Linked DNA regions of Homo sapiens: region 2 is linked to region 1. The links are contacts of gene promoters, found by promoter capture Hi-C in human tissues and cell types (Jung and others, 2019). All regions are on one chromosome and are shown on one strand. The core of a region is centred on a gene start or on the middle of the fragment in contact, and the rest is flanking DNA. Distances in the headings are between cores, read along the strand shown.

Region 1 (3,390 bases), core at 372-2,871:
GGGTTGTGATCATCAGCCTTAGGGCGCTGAGACCCCAGAAGCCTGAGCAAGGTCTGCAGTCAGCCCTGCCCCCGCCTTCAGTCAGGCTGGATGGAGACCTGGGAACCTGGGTTCCTCCCAGCCTTGCCCCTCCCTCCCTCCTGCTGAACTCTTCCTACCCGGGCTCTGAACACATCCCTGAGCTGCAGAGCTGATGTCTGCGTGACAGTGAAACAGGGTATTCATTTGTACAAAGGAAACAACCTAGAATGATAGTGTTTGGATTTCTTATGTGCTTATTTCTTCATAGAACTGAGAAAGGGTGAGGCTAAAGTCCCAAGCCTTCGTGAAGCAACGCACAAAGTACCGTTCCGAGGCTCAGGTCCACACGGCGCTGTGAGGCTGAAGGGGCGCGCTAGAAGTTCCCTTCACAGGACGCCACCTCACCTGAAACCCCCCTTTTCTGCTGCCACCCGAGGGACAAGATCTCCTGAGTTTGTCCATGACTCACTTCCCAGGAAAACCCTCAGGCAGTCGCTGAAGGACTCTGGTCTGGACTGGGAAGTGTTTTTCTCAGTGACACCTCTAGAGGGCAGCACTCAGCGGAGTCCCACAGACACCTCCAGGCATTTCCTACTCAAACACTGGGAGGATGACCTGGTAACACTGGGGAATGCTTGGGTGTTCTAGAAGCCTCCACGCCTCATTTTAACCACGTGTTTACTTGTCTGCATCCTCATAGACATGTAGGCCGCCCCAGGGCAGGGACTGTGTCTGTCTTGTTCACTGTCTATCTCCATGACCTAGTACAGAACCTGGAATTAATAAGTGCTCAACAAATAATTGCTGTGAATGTAGTCAATCTTTAATAGGTAGTTTGTTACAATCCACTCCCTTACACCTCTCATTTATAGTTTGCATTTTACCTCTAACTACAGCCATTTTTAAATATTACGTATTTTCATTTTTTTGTTGTGGAAATTATGAACATGAATAAAAATAAACAGAAAAGCATAAAAATTCTCCTTATATTTCTCACCTAGAATCAATAATTATCAACCAAAACCAATGTGAAGTTATATTTATGCCCACCTACTTCTCCTTTTGTAATAATTCCAAAGAAATCCCAGATCCATATGATTAATCCTTAAATACTTCAATGTGTTTTCCTAAAACACATAAACTGTTCTAAAGATAACCATAGTACATTATCACACATGAAATATTAACAATAATTATTTCATGTCATCAAATATTCAGTCAATATCCAAGTTTCTAATGCCATAAATTATTTTTTACAGTTTGTTTAAATTCTAATCCACTTAAGTTCTACACTTTTTGATTAGTTTCTTAATTGTATTTTAATATGTATGCTCTTAGATAAGAAGAAATTTTAACAATTTTTAGGTCAAATCTATTCATCTTTTTCTTAATTACAGTCCATTTTTATTTAAGGCACAATGCTTCAGTAAGTAATCATTGCATAGTTTCTGTGGGAAAAGTATGTGATAACGCAATTTTAAATCCAACTTAAGATGACCTTACTCAGAACCTACCTCTACTCCAGCTGCAGCCAGGAGCCACCGAATGGACTCCATACTGCCCCGTGCATTGGAGTAGTGGAGCTTGGGCTTCTCTGCCATGATAGCAGTCTCCTGGAGGTTTCTCTAAGCCTGAATGAATGAATGAATAATTGAAACGATAGAATCAAAAATGTACTTTAGGATGTGTGGTTGAAAACCACAAACAATGCTGAAGAAGAACCTGCCTTCTTCATGACTGGGTTGAAGGAGTTCCTGGAATGTTTTCTTGGCTCAAATTGTTACCCAGCAGTGGCCACCCTCAAACCAGTCTCAAGTCTTCATTGTTTACCTGTGACTTTTCTTGGCAGCCTAAGAGGTGAGAGTATGTGGTAATAATACATGTACAGGAGTTAATGGAAGGGGAAGAATTCAAGAACTAATATTTATTGAAAACTTCCTCATGATCCTTCCTCAATGCTAGTCCCTTTCAATATTTTATATCTTTAACCCTCCTTATAGTCTCATTAAATGGTTGTTTTCTCCAATTTTTAGTTAATGAAATCGAACATCAGAGAAATACAATGTTCACAGTCACACTCTGGTTGGTGATGGACATGAATATCTACACCAAGGACTAAAATGAAGTCACGCCTGGAAGACATCTGGGTGAAGGCCCTGGGAACCCATGAACTGGTTGTGAAACCAGAGGATGTCACTGACAGGGAGGACCGGCAGGGAGCTAAGTCACTCTTCAGCTCTCTGGCTGTGAGACTGCATTTGATCAAAACCAGAAATTAGGCTTCAGACTTGTTTTACTGTAGCTAGAAGATCCAAAGTCTTTCAACAGAGAATGCTAATACCTTGCTTCTTTTGGTGTTCTATATTTTAACTCTGTGGGGGGCATTTTGTTTTATAACCTGGCAAAAGAGATGTTGCTGCATTAACTTTGCAGGATATGGAAGGAGCTAGCATTTGTTCAACGTCAGTCATACACTGGCCATTCTTCTAAACTTCTCTCATTTTGTCCTACAAAAATCACCTAAGGTGAAAGGCTGTTGCTATTCTCATTTTACAGTTGAGGATACTGAGGTTTTTAAAGTAACTTACCCAGATTAAGTGGTGGATCTGGGATGCAGACTCACTGCTATTAAAAACTAAAGACTGAGTCTTATTTTCTATGTTAATGTTTCTCAAATATGCATGGTAATCTTTCAGTAGATTGTGAAACCCCAGTACTTTTTAAAATAAAATAGAAAAGAATAAAAATATCAGTGAGCATGACATGTTGAAGGGTAAGTAATGTTTCATGAGTTGTTAGTTTCAGTTATTTGTATATTGTGTGTATGGATGTTTGCATGTGTGCACGCTCACCTGCTTGTTGTAAATGGTTAGAGAGAAATTGACTGGGCTCATCAGTGAAGTTTGATAGCCCTTGCTCTATCCCAGGCTGTTTGGGAGGTGGAACATAGCAGAGTATCAGAGAATGAAAACCAATGGCTGCAAGGACAGATGCAACTAATTGTATCATGAATGTGAATGGAAGGACACAGGACTCATTGAAAGCAGGAGTTCCAGTGCCAGGACTTAGGAACAGTTGCATATTCTCTCCAAACCCCCAGCTCTGTGATTAAACATTAAGATTCTTCTTGCAAAGTTTTGTGGTTGTTGAGTTTAGAAGAAAAATATACTTGCCTTTAACAACTAATGTATTTCTTTTTTTTTTTTTTTTGAGATGGAGTTTTACTGTTTTTTTCCCAGGCTAGAGTGCTATGGTGCAATCTCAGCTCATGCAACTTTAGCCTCCCAGTTTCAAGTGATTCTCCTGCCTCAGCCTCCCAAGTAGCTTGGATTACCAGCACATGCCACCACACCTGGCTAATTTTGTATT
Region 2 (3,390 bases), core at 312-2,811, 57 kb after region 1:
ATATAACCTACATTTCCCATTTTTACTAAATTTTTAATTTCAAGAAAGAGGTTAGGAGGAGATTAGAAATCTGAATTCATATCAGATCCTAATGAAAAGGCTTAAATTTTAACTAAGTTAGCAAATAGGAGTTTTTATTATTTAATTAGCATATAATTGGAAAGGGTTCATTAGCTTTACAACAGGCACAATCAACACTTAAGTAAAGCACTTCATTGTTGCAAAACTTTAGAATATTGGTCTTGCATGTTCTTAGCCTCCATGGCTGCTTTATTAAAACCTGAAAATCTTTCTGGCTTCTTCTAAAGCTTTTGCATCTGCGGGAGGCTTCCTTGGGCTGCCAGGCTGTAGAAACTTCTTCACCGTGGGCAGGTTGCTGATTCTGGTTTTCAGGGCCTGTAATTCACAAAGCACAGCCTCAGAGTGAAGCCAAGGTCTGCCACCACCATTAATACCACCCAGGGAATTTGACCCCTCCTGCCAGAGACCAAGTGAGTCCCCTCCATCAGCACCAGCATGGAGGCAGAAACAGACACCCAGTGATAAATGAAGATAAGAGGAAGAACATGTAGCTCACTTTATTTTCCGCAAAGATGTCTTAAAGTTTTAATCAATTCAGTCATCCCTATCTTTCTCCTTACATATCAATCCTGTAGATTAGTGACTCTTGTATAAGACAAGAAAAAATAATGTGCCTGTGAGATATCAACACAGGTCAGTCTCTAAGCAGAAGTGAAAATATGGAGAAATGAGTTGGAAAGGAAAATGTTATAGAAAATATTAAAGTCAAACCATGGGACCACGTTTTCTCAGTGAGAGATACAGGGTTGGGGGCAGTGTGTTGGGTGTGCTGTGCACAGAGGAACACAACTATCTGACAGCTCCTGCTGCCCACCCTGGCCAGAGCCTAAGGAAGGAACCAGATGGAAAGGGCCCTGCTCAGACCAATTCAGTGTGGGAACACAAGGACAGTCTTGGGATAAAGGGAATCACAGAACTCAGGAACAGACCACAGAGGAATGGGGGAGGAAGGAAGATGCTGGGCCCTGGGTCCTTTCCGTGATAAAAGGCAAAATACTTTTCATGGGGTAGCATGACCACAAATTTCCTTTCCAGAACAAGAGTCTTTTCATGCCTCAAAATTGGGGTCTGGAAGCTCATTTTGGAGACCTGGGGGTACTGAAGGCCTGAAAAAGGCTGGGGTCAGAACATGGCCAGTCCAAGGGCCCAGATACTAGATCCCAAGATGGGACATGTGGGGCTGTCTCTCTGAGGGCTGTGAAATGGGTCACCTTCAGCAGAGGGAAGTTGGAGATAAGGCTGGAGTCAAGCTCTTCCACATAGTAGAGAAGTTCCACCAGGCTAATGTCAGCCCGGCTCAGCTTGTTGCCAACAAGGTAGTCTTGTCCATGGCTCTGTAACACCTGGAGAATTTGAGGAATCAGATCAGGAATACATGCGCACCCAGGATGGGACCCCTGCTTCTCCCTGAGTCTTTCCAGCCTGACATTCCCACCTGTGTTGCCTAACTGGATGGTGTGAAGGTCCAGGCCTTTGTTTATGTTCCCTGATTGAGTGAGGGAGCAAGAATGTGGCTCTGCTCACTCCTCAGTTGGAGCTCAGGCTCCCATTTTCTCTTCTCATTCCACATCACTGTGGCATCCACACCATCCACCTGCTTGCATTTTCCACATGGGCCAGGGGTTTAGCACCTGCTACTGCATGTTCTGTCTGCCCCAGGCCCTACAGCGTGTAGCCTTGACATTCAGGATGTGGCTCTACAATCTGCTCTCTCCCTCTCCAATCTCCCTTGGGCAGTGACTCCACCTTCATGACAGCACTCTTCCTCCAGGAGTAGACTATTTCAGAGTCTTCATTTCTCCATATGTTCCATAGACTCAACAGCAACCTCTAGTGTGATTCAGAGCCTTCCACAGCCCACGTTCTACTTAAAAACATAAAATTTTGTTGAATAGAGAATTCTATATTGGGGTCTAGTAAATTGAAATTTTGCTGGAAAATTATAACTTGGGTATAAGTGGTATCATTGTTCCTCCAAGTCTATCTTCATAAAATGCCTTGTCTGCTTTCCTCATTTCCTGTTCTATCTCCCTGGGATCTGAAGTAAACCTGGGTTGTTATATATAAAGTTTCAGTGACGCAAAAAGAATAGTACTTGAATATAAAATTTTCTTTTTAATTCTCAGCAAGGCAAGGTACTTCTATATAGAAGGGTGCGCTCTCACAGATGGAACAACGGTGAGCGCACACTTGGACAAAGGAGGGGAAGGGTTTCTTATCCCTGACGCACGTGGCCCCTGCTGCTGTGTCTTTCCCCCTGCTGCTGTGTCGTTCCCCTATTGGCTAGGGTTAGACTGCACTGGCTAAACTAATTCTGATTGGCTAATTTAAAGAGAATGACGGGGTGAGTGCTTTGGCAGGAGTCAGGGCAGAGCAGGTAGCCGGCAATCGGAATGAGTTAGGAGGAGAAGGTAATCGGAATGAGTTTGGGTAGAGCAGGTAATCAGAATGAGTCAGGGTAGAGCAGGTAATCGGAATGAGTTAGGGTAGAGCAGGTAATCGGAATGGGTCAGGGTGGAGCAGGTGATCGGAATGAGTTAGGGTGGAGCAGGTGATCGGAATGAGTCAGGGTGGAGTAGGTAATCGAAAAAGATTGCTTTACGAGGTAGTTAAGTTTAAAAGTAGAAGGCAAAAAATTGAATATACTGACATGTTAATTCTTTGAAAAGAAATTTAGAACTCCTATCTAACAGGGTGAACTTGAATTCATCATCTTTCTTGCAATATCGGCTCTGACTCCTAACCTGCGCTGTTATAATCTGCAAGCTGAAGTGTCTAGGAGTGAACTGCACTGACGTCTGCAACTTACTTTAAAATGAGTTTTAAAAAATCTTCCTCTCCACCCCACTGTCACTATCCTTTTAAGAAATATCCATCTCTGAAACACTACAATATTCTCTGGTTGGGAAATTGGTCTCCTGTCTTCCTACACATGGTGCCAGAATAGTTTCTAATGGATCGCTTTCATCATGTTCATCTTCAGACAAAGCCTGTGTTCCACAGACTCAACAGCAACCTCTAGTGTGGTTCAGAGCCTTCCACAGCCCATGTTCTACTTATGAACATAAAATTGTTGAATAGAGAATTCTATACTGGGGTCTAGTAAATTGAAATTTTGCTGGAAAATTATAACTTGGGGATAAGTGGTATCACTGTTCCTCTAAGTCAATTTTCATAAAATGCCTTGAGAGTCAGAGAGCTGAATTGGTGTTCAGGAAGTCTCACTGAAAGTGAAGGTCAGTGCCCCAGGAATGCCCAGCCACTATTTTTCTACTGGCCTCTAAACTCAGTGCCCCAAAATGCTGAACA

What was found. Contacts are between HindIII fragments. The study calls those that stand out against the background at their distance.
Region 2: a fragment that was not itself captured here is called in contact with the fragment with the promoter of GSTA5 in region 1 in 1 of the 25 tissues and cell types used here (spleen).

What each region holds. Positions count from the first base shown.
Region 1 is chr6:52,839,192-52,842,581 of GRCh38, forward strand. GSTA5 (glutathione S-transferase alpha 5) reads right to left here and starts at 1,622. Exons shown (of 6, transcript NM_153699.3): 1 at 1,536-1,622. The coding sequence starts at 1,622. The HindIII fragment of the contact is 18,057 bases long and covers 1-3,390 here.
Region 2 is chr6:52,896,533-52,899,922 of GRCh38, forward strand. GSTA3 (glutathione S-transferase alpha 3) reads right to left here. Exons shown (of 7, transcript NM_000847.5): 6 at 1,293-1,424; 7 at 114-396. The coding sequence ends at 274. The region is part of intron 2 of LOC105375091 (a long non-coding RNA gene); the gene reads left to right. Among named protein-coding and RNA genes, the nearest start is that of GSTA3, 11 kb to the right of the region's middle. The HindIII fragment of the contact is 6,470 bases long and covers 1-3,390 here.